3 separate regions of the Homo sapiens genome follow, and regions 2 and 3 are each linked to region 1. The links are contacts of gene promoters, found by promoter capture Hi-C in blood cells and fetal thymus (Javierre and others, 2016). All regions are on one chromosome and are shown on one strand. The core of a region is centred on a gene start or on the middle of the fragment in contact, and the rest is flanking DNA. Distances in the headings are between cores, read along the strand shown.

What was found. The method cuts DNA at HindIII sites, captures the fragments that hold promoters and counts their contacts. A CHiCAGO score of 5 or more calls a contact.
Region 2: a fragment that was not itself captured here is called in contact with the fragment with the promoter of MYH13 in region 1 in 1 of 17 cell types (neutrophils); the score reaches 5.0 in neutrophils.
Region 3: a fragment that was not itself captured here is called in contact with the fragment with the promoter of MYH13 in region 1 in 1 of 17 cell types (monocytes); the score reaches 5.4 in monocytes.

Annotation. Positions count from the first base shown.
Region 1 is chr17:10,370,884-10,375,414 of GRCh38, forward strand. It overlaps MYH13 (myosin heavy chain 13), which reads right to left and starts at 2,123. Exons shown (of 41, transcript NM_003802.3): 1 at 2,096-2,123; 2 at 326-376. The HindIII fragment of the contact is 11,420 bases long and covers 1-2,596 here.
Region 2 is chr17:9,867,996-9,872,526 of GRCh38, forward strand. GLP2R (glucagon like peptide 2 receptor) reads left to right here. Exons shown (of 13, transcript NM_004246.3): 10 at 2,752-2,840. Among named protein-coding and RNA genes, the nearest start is that of RCVRN, 35 kb to the right of the region's middle. The HindIII fragment of the contact is 1,919 bases long and covers 864-2,782 here.
Region 3 is chr17:9,926,243-9,930,773 of GRCh38, forward strand. GAS7 (growth arrest specific 7) reads right to left here. Exons shown (of 14, transcript NM_201433.2): 10 at 399-527. Among named protein-coding and RNA genes, the nearest start is that of RCVRN, 23 kb to the left of the region's middle. The HindIII fragment of the contact is 1,356 bases long and covers 1,755-3,110 here.

The DNA.
Region 1 (4,531 bases), core at 873-3,372:
TTAGCCTTTGTGTGAAGACTGCATTTGGACCCTATGAACATCATGTTCTGTGCCAACTAAGTACTGTGTATTGACTTGGAGCTTGTATGTCAAAATTCTGCATTATATTTCGTACATTTCAGTGTAATGAGCAAATAGGAGAAGCCATTCTTCCTTTGGTAAAACCTGTATATATTTTAAAATCTACCTTTAAGAATAGTTAAGTTATTGGTTTCAAACTCATCAATTTCGTCTTCTTATGAGTGTGGCAAGAATGAGAACGTGTAAAATGATGTTTGCTAATTTCAATGATTGCATTCATGATCAAGCTGAAAATAACCCTTACCTTCTTGGTTCCCAAGTGACAGTCAGTGTCCTTCAGGAATAAAGCGTCTTCCTGGGGATAATTTGAGAAAAAAAAACAAACCAAAAAAACCCAAATGAGCTACAAAGAGTTTAAATAAATATAGAAACCATGTTTGTTCCAGTTTATCTACCTTAAATAGATACACAGTAGATGGTGTGGAATGAAATAAATTTGCTGTTTTGAATTTTTACTTTTGATTAAAATCATTATTCTTTAAATAGTTGGTTAATTACAACATTTAATTAATACTCTCTTGAGAAACTTCTGTGTGTACAATGTACTGTGTCAGCTCCTTAAGGGGGTATGAAGAGGAAAGTACAGTATCTGCCCTATAGGAATGCAAAAGTTAGTAAGGGATAAGAGAATGCTCAAGTAAGTCTTTGAACAGGATTAAGACAAATTTTTAAGGAGTCTAAACAAAGTACTATGGGAACTTAGAGAAACCGCTTCTGACTGGGGGGCTGTGAGGGGTCAGGGAAGAAAGAAAGTAGGGAGGGGAATGCTCCAGATTGCAGCTTGGATGCTTAGGGGCAGTCACCTTTTTTTGGCAATAGGAGAAAAGTTATAAATTGTGGACAAAGACTTCTTTATTCTCTTCAATGCTCTAAATTCCTCCTGCAGATGATGAAGGTAGGGCAGCTGAAAAGTCACCTGGGACTAAGGAATCTCAGCTCTAGGAGTTTATAAACTACGTGGCTATCTCAAGGAGGCATGAGTGTCTGAAAAATTTTCAATATCAAATGTAATCTAAGCAAACTTCCCAATTACCATTCAGTGCTTTTATGGAGCCAGGGGAATATTTCATGAAGCCCTATTTAGGCAGGAACAGACACTTAGGATTTGGTTTACTATCCTTGTTGCCTCCTTCCTTCTCCGTCTTTAATGCATCTTAAATAATCTCCAGTTATATCCTAAAATTCTCACAATTTCTTAAAAAATTAAAGTATTACATACTATATTCTGAATCCTCAATTTAAAAAAATATGGAGGCAGAGCTACAGAAATTCTAATATCAGTTCTGTTAAGTAGCTGGTATGATTTCTTTGGGTTTCTGTTTCCTTCCGTAAAATGAATCAGATGCACCAGAAAATCTCCAAGATTCCTTTCAGCCCTATGAGTCTATAACAGACAGTTCTCCGTAGAGATGGTGGCCTGAATTCAAAGTATCACAAATCTCTGAGGGATGCTATTGCACTGTCAGACACAGTCCAGTCCCAAGTCCATAAAATATGCCATGTGAGAACAGTCTGCAAACCAGTCAATTCATATCAGACTATGACACTTTGTAAGATGGGTAAGATGCTTGGGATTATTTCCTCCCACAACCATTTTTCAGAAATCCTGACATGGGAAACAAATTAAATAAACATAAAAATTTCAAATAATAGCTTAAGCAATCACAGAAGAGATACCACAAGTTACCAAGTTAATTTGCTAACTGAACAGTATAACATTGACCTAAATAATCAGAGGAGGAATCATGCATTATACTCAGTTTTGTTCTGCAGGTGAATATTTTTTGTCTTATAATTGCTTATATTCTTGTCTTTTCACCCCTTGTAAAAGTTTCTTGAAAGGCAGTTGTCTTGTCTTTCCATCTTGTCTCCAACCTTGCCCTCAACACAAGACCTTGCACTTAGTAGGCCCTCCGTAAAGGCTACTTTATTGTCTTCCCCCCTTGACTGGTAACCTGATCAGGTGCAACTATAGCTACGTGGAGCAAAAAAGTGAGCACTTGTGAGCACTTACCTAGAGATGCTGCGGTCACAGCAATTTCAGGAGTGTGACCCCCCAGCTCTCTTTATACTCCCAAATCTGCCAGCCCAGCACTCTAACTTGGCTATATTTGGGGGAGCACCATTTACTTGTTAGATGTAAATGCGTCGTAGCCCTGATCTCTCACTCTTGTTAAGTTACTTGGATAAATGACCAGTGGAGGCTGCATAATGCCAAGTCAGCTGCATAGGGATTTTGACGTTGGACACAGATCTTTGAGACTTAGAGAGTCCTAGGGGCTGAGTGGAACTGGAGCAGAGTGTGCTAAGAAGGTCACTGAAGGGCAGAACCACAGGATGCTTTGTCAAGCAATGGGTGATCAGTAGTGTGGACAGTAACTACACCTCATTTACCCAGCATTGGTATGGGATGGTGTGCTTCTCATCTCAGAAATCTCTGGAAATTTAAGGTTGACCTTTTAACACATCCAGTCTTATTTATGTATTTGTTTGTTTAAAAATCTACTGGAAGAAAAGCTTTCCAAAATGTATTTTACATTATCCTGCTCTGTGTAACCTACTATCTTGAATAGAATTTAAGTTTTTCTTGATCACTCTGGGGGTCTGGGAGATGATATAATAAAGTCATCAAGGATCTGGTTCTTAGTGGATCATGCCTGCACTAATTGTTCCTGCTGTGAATTTTGGTGTATACTTTTATTTATTATTATTATTATTATCGAAACAGAGTCTTGCTCTCTCCTCTAGGCTGGAGTGCAGTGGCGTGATCTTGGTTCGCTGCAAACTCCATTTCCCAGGTTCAAGCAATTCTCTTGTCTCAGCCTCCCAAGTAGTTGGGATTATAGGCATGTGCTATAATCCCATGTGTTATATATAGGCATGTGCTATAATCGCCCAGCTAATTTTTATATTTTTAGTAGAGACAGGGTTTCACCATGTTGGCCAGGGTGGTTTCGAACTCCTGACCTCAAGTGATCCTCCCGCCTCGGCCTCCCAAAATGCTGGGATTACAAGTGTGAGCCACCACACTTGGCCTTACTTTTTAGATTTTCTGTCTTTGCCTTCATGGCCAGCCTCTCAGGTATAATTTCTTTCTGTGGTAAGTTTGTCTTTACTAGCCTGATTTTGTATTATTGATTGGGAAAGAGATTACAAAATTAAGATCAGGCTAAAGTAAGAGTAAATAAGTTCTGAGTGCAGCTCTAGTGGGTTCTAATGAAAATACGTGGACTTTGTGACAATTATAGTTACTTAGGAGTTTTTTTATTTTTTGCTAAAATATAAGTGATGTTTGACTATGTAGGAACAACTGTATATGTAGAAGTTAGAGCCATTTACTGCAATACAGTGTGATCTGTTTAAATTGTATATAATCAGTGTTTGTTGAATCAAAGTTTCCTTAATCAGTCTCCAGTGGGTAGAATTTCATGTAGGTAGGGCATTTCCAAAAGATAGTTTGCATTAATCAAAGTGAATTTTAGACCAGAGGAGGAGCAGGTAGAGATAGGACTTCCACAAAGTATTTTCTCTTCCTTCCTTCCTTCCTTCCTTCCTTCCTTCCTTCCTTCCTTCCTTCCTTCCCTCCCTCCCTCCCTCCTTCCTTCCTTCCTTCTTTCGTTCCTTTCTTTCTTTCTCTCTCTTTCTTTCTCTTTCTTTCTTTTTTTTTTTTGAGACAGAGTTTTGCTCTTGTTGCCCAGGCTGGATTGCAATGGCGCGACCTCCGCCCACCACAACCTCCGCCTTGTGGGTTCAAGCGATTTTCCTGCCTCAGCCTCCCGAGTAGCTGGGATTACAGGCATGTGCCACCAGGCCCAGCTAATTTTGTATTTTTAATAGAGACGGGGTTTCACCATGTTGGTCAGGCTGGTCTCGAACTCCCGACCTCAGGTGATCCGCCTGCCTTGGCCTCCCAAAGTGCTGGGATTACAGGCATGAGCCTGGCTTCCACAAAGTATTTTCTAAAGTAGATTTGACAGAATGCAGATTGGGAGGGTCGCTTCGAAATAAATGGTCCTGTGGTTAAATGAGCTTAAGAAATGTGTTAAACTCTATTCCCTCCTGTTAGAGATTCATCATAAATATTAGCATATTAAGGGATGTGAGAAGCCCTTCAGTAAAGAAATATGAATACTTTTTTTTTAGACCTGGAACTTCCCTAGGTGATTTGATGTTGGAACACAAACTTATTTATTTCCTGTTCCAGAAAACAAGAGAGGAAAGGCTGAAGGACATAATCCATAGCAAAGTTCTGGCCCAGAAGAAAGCAACCGAGAGTGATCAGCCCTAAGCACAGTTGCTTTTATTTGAGGTGCAGCCTTTTGCATGTAGCAGATGCTCAGTAAATGTTCGTCCTGGTGAATAAATGAATCAAGATGACTCATAGGGGAGTCATCCTGACTCATGTGTTGAAAGGCCTGAAGTGATAAGAAAAGAATGGAATCAGACTCTG
Region 2 (4,531 bases), core at 573-3,072, 500 kb before region 1:
CTCTCCCTGTACTCTGGGTTTTCCCACCCCATCAAAACTTAGCTTTGCTACACCCCATCTTCTGCTTTAAATGGTGATAATAAGCCAGAGCCTAGGTAACTTACTGAAGTCTTCATTGTTGCAAAAATGAATGAATGAATGAAAGGAGAAAGGGCTTCCTTCCTCCTCTCCCAGTGATTCCTTAGCTTCAGTGGGTTGTGTGCCTTTCAGCAGGGCTCTTGGGGAAAGAGTGTTTTGACTCACAAGAGTAGCTCTACAGGATTAGCATTTTAGTCCACACAGCAGGCCAGAGGAGGAGGGGTTTGGCGGTAGATGGAAGAGTTTAGGGGTAGATGAGGCCTACCCCTGAGCTCCCGCTATACCGGCAATCACCTCTGCCAACTTGTAGGCCCAGATCTGTGCACAGAAGCTGGGGTAACAAGAAAGTGTCACCAAGAATGTCACATCTGAGAATGCATCTGGGATAGATCCTTATATATTTGGGGTCCTTAGCACCCACCCCCATCTGGTCACAAAATCCTGGAGGAGTTGGCTGGGTTCTTGGAAAATGTCCTCACTCAGCCCCTTTCCTGCTTGTGTGAAAATGAAGAACAGCACCATCCAAAAGTACCTGCTGACTCTTGTCTTCTTGGAAGCCCAGATGAGCAGAGGCTTCATGGTACCCCCAGCTAGGGTTTCATCCTGTGGCAGTGAGGAAGTGCCTCCTTCGTACGTTCTATGGGTTGATGCCCATTTTCTCATGTCTGGTCTCTGGAAGACACAGAGAACAGTGAATCAACATGCTTCCCATTATAACCTTTCATTGCCTAGGAGACAGTCCTGATTGAAATTAATTTGCTGAAATAAATGCCTTTCTGCTGTTAAGCTTGCTTTGTAAGAAAAATGCCTATGTTCAATAAATCACTAAGCCAAGGACACAACGTTTTCTCTTTATGATGAGAGGCAGATATCCCATTAAAAGAAATACATTACTTGATTACATTTACCTTGTATTTAAACTTTCTGTTCCTAAATATTCTTTGGCTAGGAACCTCCATCATTCCTGCTGGCTTCAGGCCCTCACATCCAGTCAATAACAAAGATCATTTGACTCATACTTCTTCATCATTTCAAATTGATCCCTTCCTCTCCATCATGGAAGCACCAGAACTGCTGCTGATTTCTTTTCTCCATCACCGTCCCCCAGGAACTCTGAAACTACTTCCCAACTGATCTCCCCTCCTCCAGCCTTACCCTCACCCAATCCATTCTCCACACTGCTGCTGAAATTATCTTTCTGAAATGCAGAAGTACAAATCTGATCAGGTCACTTGCGTGCTTAAAATCTATCACTGGCTCTTCATTGCTTTCAGAAGAAAACCCAAACTCCTTACCTACCACGGCTGTGAAAGACCCTGCAGAAACGGACCCCCCTCTCCTGCCCAGTCTCACTTCTCACAAACCCTGTTCTCATTCTCCAAGCTCTACCCAAACCCAGCCACCTGCTTTTCACCACTTCCAGGGGGCTCTTGATCTCTCCCGAGGCTGCAGCCAAGACGGCAGCCAGGGCCGCAGCCATCTGAAGGCTTGGCTGGGGCTGGAGGATCAGCTCCCAAGGTGGCGCACACACGTAGCTGGTGGTGGGTGGTGCTGGTTTTGGGCCTGAGAACTCAGTTACCCCACGTGGATCTCCCAACAGGCTGCTTGAGTGTCTTCACAAAATGGTGGCTGACTTCCCCTGGAGTGAGAAACCTAAGAGAGAGAGAGAGAGAAAGAGAGAGCTGGGTGGAAGCCAGCCATCCTTTTGAGGACCTAGCCCAGAAGTCACATAGCACCACTTCTATGACACCATATTCTTTTCGTTAAGTGCAAGTAACTAAATCTAGCTCACCTCACAAGGGGAATAAGGGGGATTAGCCTCCACTTTTGAAGGCAGAAGGGCCAAGGAATTTGCAGGCATATTTTTAAATTTCTTTAAAGGCTGACAATGGAGGGCTGGATTTTCCCAGTCCATGACAGTCGTGGAATGTATTCTAGGGAGTAGAGAGCATATTCTGTCTATGAATTCCATAGCAGCAACAGGATCTCAAGTTAGACACCAATAGGGATGGAGTTCTTTACAGAAGAGAGGCAGAATAGCGTTCTGTTTAAGTGAAGGGAGGGTTATAATCCCATGAATCTGGGTTTAATTACAGGCTTAATCACTGACTAGCCATGCAACCTGGGAATTACACTTACTTCTCTGTGCCTGTTTTCTCATTGTTTTATGAGGATAAAAATAGTTGTGGCTACCTTAAGGGGATGTTGTAAAAACTAGATACAAGAATGCCTGGACCATTCTTAGCCCAAAGCCTGACATGGTGCTAAGTACTAAGTGATAAGTACTCAATACGTGGTAGTTAATAATAATAACAATAATAGTAATAATAATAATGTGAACGTCCACCTGCCTTTCTAGATGGCCTTAATGATGGGCCTCCTTAAGGCAGAATAATAAACTAAATCACTTTCTGAAATTCCTTCCAGACTTTCAGTTCAGATGACCTTTGGGACTTTGGAGATTCAGATGGCCTTTGGGACAGTGGAGATTCAGATGGCCTTTAGGACAGTGGAGATCACAGCTAAGCATTTACTACCTGGCCAGCTAACTGCTGAATTGCCCCTGGTTTACATTGAACTGATGGAACTGATGGCCGAGCCCAGCCTGACCTTGAAGTTCACAGCTATGTGGAATTCGTCACTTACTTACCCAATTCTGCTCTTTTTTTCAAGGTCAATTTCTTCATCTTCCTGAAAATTCTCAAGCTTCTCATTTCTAAGCTCAAAGCTCATCAAATGTGCTTCAGAGATTATAAATACAGGTGAGTGGCTTAAGGTTGGTCCCCAGCAGTCCAAGGTTATTGTAAGTACTCTGGCTGTTCTGCCCGCTGTCTTGGGAAGGACATTTATCTCCTAAGGCCAGGGTATCAGAAAGAGCAGTTCTGGGAAGGTGCTATAGGATCAAGTGAGGCTTTTGTCAATGGTGAGGACCTTCTATGACGATGAAGCAAATGGTGAGTAGTCAAGGGCATTCACATCCCCCAGCAGAAAACTGTTAAAATGCCCCTAAGAGGGCAGGAGTGATGTCTCAGACCTGTAATCCCAGGACTTTGGGAGGCTGGGACAAGAGGATTACTTGAGGCCATGAGTTTGAGAACAGCCTGGACAACATGGTGAAACCCCGTTTCTACCAAAAATACAAAAGTTAGCCAGGCGTGGTGCATGCCTGTAGTCCCAGGCTAAGGTGAGGGGCTTGCTTGAGCCCAGAAGGTCGAGGCTGCAGTGAGCCATGATTGTGCCACTGCACTCCAGCCTGGGTGACCCTGTCTCAAAAAAAAAAAAAAAAAAGTTTCTAAGAATGGGTGGTTGTGGGAAAAGGACAGTCTTGTTTGAAGAGAAGTTTGGCAGTTGCCTTCCTTGGGGAAGGATTTGAAGAGAAGAGATTATTTGGGTGTTTTTGAGACCTTGAGAAATGAGACCACAAACTTTTAGGGTCTAAGGAAAGACATCCTTCCACAGGCATCCTTTAATTGTGACTTGTTGTCGCTGCATCTCACCTTCCTCTTTCTGAGATGACAGCAGTCCTCATTCATAGTCAGTCAGATCATAGGTATTTATTAGATCTGCATTGTTGTAAAAGCAAATGAATGAATGAAGAGAGATAAAGGGTTTCCTCCCTCTTTTCCTAGTTATTCTTTACTTTCTTTCTTTTTTTTTTTTTTTTTTTTTTGACAGAGTCTTGCTCTTGTCGCCCAGGCTGGAGTGCAATGGCATGATCTCAGCTCGCTGCAACCTCCACCTCCCAGATTCAAGCCATTCTCCTGCCTCAGCCTCCTGAGTAGCTGGGATTACAGGCACCTGCCACCACGTCCGGCTAATTTTTGTATTTTTAGTAGAGACAGAGTTTCACCATGTTGGCCAGGCTGATCTCAAACTCCTGACCTCATGATCCACTAGCCTTGGCCTCCCAAAGTGCTGGGATTACAGGCGTGAGCCACCACACGTGGCCTATTCTTTGCTTTCTATGTGGCATATGCATTCAGCAGGGCTCTGGAACGGGAGTGTTTTAACCCACAGAGTAGCTCTAAGAGTAGGAATTTCAGTCCACACAGGAAGGCAGAAGAGGTGGGCACGAGTGAAGATGGCCCTAGCCCTGTTTCTCTCCCCTTTATAAGGCCTCACCCAGGTGCTGGGAAGGGAGTTTTTCCTTTTATCTGACAAATATTTAATAGATGCCTACAATGTGCCTGGTACTGTGCTTGGAATAAAAGGTGGACATGAGGCCAGGTTCGGTGACTCACGCCTGTAATCCCAGTACTTTGGGAGGCCAAGGTGGGCATATCACCTGAGGTCAGGAGTTCAAGACTAGCCTGGCCAACATGGCAAAACCCTGTCTCTACTAAAAATACAAAAATTAGCTGGGTGTGGTGGTGTGTGCCTGTAATCCCAGCTACTCAGGAGGCTGAGGCAGGAGAATCACTTGAATTCGGGAGGCGGAGGTTGCAGTAAGCCG
Region 3 (4,531 bases), core at 1,183-3,682, 440 kb before region 1:
TGAGCAGGAAGGAGAGCAGGGAGGCGGTGACTGAGTCAGGACGACTCAGCCAGGTGAGGCTTAAACACGGGGCCCCACGTGAACCAGCAGCAGCACTGCTAGGCTCGGGGTTTAACTGGTCGCCAACAGCCACTCGACTGCCCACTGCAGCTGCAGCCTCTCCTCGCACCCCTGGCCCTCTGGGTGGTCATTCCAGCACCACAGGGAGGCAGCTCCTATCTGCCCTTGGATGGGTGGGGTGCTCTGGCGTAGGCACGAGGCTTGGACATCCCCCTATTCCCCTACCTGGGGACAAAGACTCAGCCTTGGCGTATGGAGCCACTGCTGGCTTCCCAGTCCCCCTTCTTCCAGGCAGTCCCCCATGCACCTGCCCTGGCCCAGCGTCCTGGGCCTCTCACCTTCTCCACCGAGGCATAGCGGCTGGCGAGCTGCTTGCGAAGGTCGGCAATGTGGTGGTCGCACTTCTTCATGTCTTTCTTGAAGTTCTCACGGAAGTTCATCAGGGGCTTCTCCACCTCGCTGTGAAGCTGTTGGGAGAGTAGAGACGCACACTCAGGACCCAGGGCATCAGCTGTAAGCCAGTGCAGGGAGGAGGGATGGGAGGGGCACCCCCACTTCCCCAGGCAAGTGAGGATGAGTCTGGGGTAGCGACCTGGCAGGAAGGTGAGAGACACCCCCTGACACGTGGCTGCCTATCAGGTCTCAGCTTAGGCAGGTCACCTTAGCTCAGGAGGCCCCCACACACGTCTACAGGATAAGTGGTTAGCAACTAGAGCCTTCTGATTTCCCCATCTGTTAACTACTTTTTTTCTGAGCTTCTGCAGCTTTTAAATTTTTAGAATTTTTTACTATTTATGGTTTATAATATGCTGTTTTGAAATATGTATATATTGTGGAATGGCTAAATCAAGTTAATAATCAATGGGCTGGGCACGGTGGCTCATGCCTGTAATCCCAGCACTTTGGGAGGCCAAGGCAGGTTGATCACCTGAGGTCAGGAGTTCGAGACCAGCCTGGCCAACATGGTGAAACCCCATCTCTACTACATACACACACACACACACACACACACACACACACACACACACACACAAATTAGCTGGGAGTGGTGGCAGGTGCCTGTAATCCCAGCTACTCAGGAGGCTGAGGCAGGAAATCACTTGAACCTGGGAGGTTGCAGTGAGCCGAGATTGTGCCACTGCACTTCAGCCTGGGTGACAGAGTGAGACTTGGTCTCAAAAAAAAAAAACAAAACAAACAAACAAAAAACAATAATAATCAATGACCTCACACACTTATTTTATCCCACAGCTTCTTGCACGGCTTTGTTCTTATGTCTCTCTCCCTTATTTTCCGAACTGAGAGCTTTCTGGGGACAGAAACCACATCAGCGTCTGTGTCTCCAAGCACTCAGCACAGTGACTGGGGTACGCGGCTTCAGTAAAGAACAGTCGAATGAATGCCATTCAATTAGAAGGTCTCAGGTCAGTCCTATTTATCGAACATCTACTCCATGGCAGGTGCTGAGAATACAAAGGTGAGCTAGACAGGGTCCAAACCTCGAGGAACTGATGGTGGGAACTGTTGGAGACCTGCTGGAAACTCACAAGGGCAACTGTCCCGCATTGCGCTCATAAAGACATTCTCAGCTTGCTGGGCTGCCTGGAGCACAGGCAAAGGGAACCGCCCTGTATCCCAGGGGCCAGAGAAAAGGGTTTATGCTGTCAGAAGAGCTGGGTGGCATCAGGGTTTTAAGCTTTTTTCTTCTCTTTTATTCCTTCCCTCTTTCCCATCCCACCCCCCTTTAAAAGAACTTTTCCTTAAAATTTGTTCCTTTTGTTTGTGAGCATAACATTTATTTATTTTTTATTTATTTATTTATTTTTTTGAGACAGAGTCTCGCTCTGTCGCCCAGGCTGGAGTGCAGCGACGCGATCTCGGCTCACTGCAAGCCTCGCCTTCCAGGTTCACGCCATTCTCCTGTCTCAGCCTCCCGAGTAGCTGGGACTACAGGCACCTGCCACCACGCCCGGCTAATTTTTTTTTTTTTTTTGTATTTTTAGTAGAGATGGGGTTTCACCGTGTTAGTCAGGATGGTCTCGATCTCCTGACCTCGTGATCCGCCCGCCTCGGCCTCCCAAAGTGCTGGGATTACAGGCGTGAGCCACCGTGCCCAGCCCATAACATTTATAAGAAAACAGATCAACGGGACCTGCTGTGGTCAAAGCCAGGTGGCACCCTAGCCCTGTGCACCCCTCCCACCCCACTGCCTGGAATCAGGCAACTCTCTTCAACCTATGACCACCCCACCACCGCAAATCTGCCTCCACCGGTCTTAGAGGTGTCTCTAGGGAGCACAGCTCAACTTCCCTGGACAGATGATATCCCAACGAGGGTTCTGTGACTTCTCTCCTCTCCCTCAGGTTTTTGCTGTACAATATCTTTTTCTCTGGATACAACCAGGACTTAGGTGTCCCTATTCTAAGCAACTGACTTACACGGGGCTGGGAGCTCCAAGCGGGCAGGGGCCCCATCTGGGTTGAGCACTGCTGTGCCCAGTGTCTGACCTGGGCTGGGGCTGGGTGGGTGCCCCTTCTGTGTTTGTAGAGAGAATGACAAACTCTTCAGAGCTCAATCCCCTGGGTGACAAGAAGACAGCTTTGTCGCTGGATGACCGTCACAGACTAACAGAGAACTGGCCATCCAAACACCCCTCTCTCCTCCTCGTGTTAGTTGTAAATATGTCCTACTATTTTTTTTGAGCCCCTGGAACCTTCCCTGTATAGGAAAACATCCCCACCTGGCGGCAGTTTGCAGGATGCTACAAAAATCTTGAGAGCTTACGAGAATAAATAAACCCCTTTCCCACGTATATAGGTTTGGCATTTGCTGAGTAGGAGCAGCTGTACGACTCCGGGAATCTGGGAGAGTTAGCTCAGCCTGCTGACTCAGAAACTCCGGGGTCTCTAAGGACATGGAAAGCAAGTGACTTTCAGGCTTTAATACGCCCAGGAATGACCTGAAGAGTTTTCAACATTAAGGTTTCCTGGACCCCAGCCCCAGGTTCTGTGGTCTGGGGAAAAGCCCATGAACCTGCCAATATGCCAGGAAGCTTTCCCCAAATTCAAATGACATTCTGGAAGCGTGACGCTGCTAACTATCACAAGTGATTTGATTCCACAGATGAGGATGCCTGGCATCTCCATCTCGCTACAGACATCAAGTATTTTATTTATTTATTTATTTTTTTGAGACGGAGTCTCACTCTGTCTCCCAGGCTGGAGTGCAATGGCGCAATCTTGGCTCACTGCAAGCTCCACCTCCCAGGTTCAAGCCGTTCTCCTGCCTCAGCCTCCCAAGTAGCTGGGATTACAGGCACCCGCCACCAAACCTGGCTAATTTTTTTTTGTATTTTTAGTAGAGACGGGGTTTCACCATGTTAGCCAGGATGGTCTTGATCTCCTGACCTCATGATCCGCCCGCCTCGGCCTCCCAAAGTGCTGGGATTACAGGTGTGAGCCACTGTGCCCGACGATATTAAGTACTTTTAAAAGACAGTTTTTTTTTTCCTTTAAAATGGTTAGGCTGGTATCTTTAGTACCCATTCTTAACTTTTAAGCATCTCTGTTGAACCAGGAATCAGAAGTCCTTCCTCAAAGTGTCCTCACAGACTCAGGCCGGCCTGTCATGGCCCATCAGTTTTTCTTTCCAAAACTCTCGCTCTCTTTGCTTCCTTTTCATCTCACACATCAGAAGAGAATAAGAGAAGTTCCAAGTTGGTAGGAATTTCAGACACTGTCTAGTCTGATATTTTTCAGACGGTGTGCGGCCGAGAGTTGTGAAATCGATTTAATGGGCCAGGACCAGCTTTTTGGTGAGAACAGACCAGACTTGAACAGAAAATACCAGAGTACATTTTAAGTAGGAGGATAAATACTGTTTTATGAAACGTTTGTTTCAGCTACAGATGTGTGTGAATGTCTGTGTGCAGATATCGGAGTGGATACCTACAGACAGGTTCTGAATGCTCACATAAAATGCATCATTGTAAGTCACTGTCAGATAAGTGTAAAGAGACTGATCTGGTCTGAATTCTTCATTTCATATGTGAAGAAATGAAACCCCAGGGGAGCTAAGTGACTTGCTCAAGGTCACAGAGCTTGTTAGTGACAATACTGAGATACAACTCATGTCTCCTCACTCCTGTCCCCTAAATCTTCTGATGGAACGCAGAGCCTCTACCGCATGAGATTTTCTATCAGCAGAAGGAATTCTGCTCTTCTCCCTTCTTCAGCAGGAGCCAGGTATAACTTTCTTTGTATACGGCTCTCTCATTTCTTTAGCAATCTGTTGCTATTAGCAATGGCTTGAGCTAATGGACCAGAAAAACCACAAAAATTGCTGCAACAAAATTGCATTTCTTAAAGAGCTTTTACCCCTGACACAGAGCATTCAGAGCAGAATTTCAATAAGTCTTTTGGAGCAGACATTAAAAACGGTTTTTGGCATATGGAGCTATATTATTCATGGC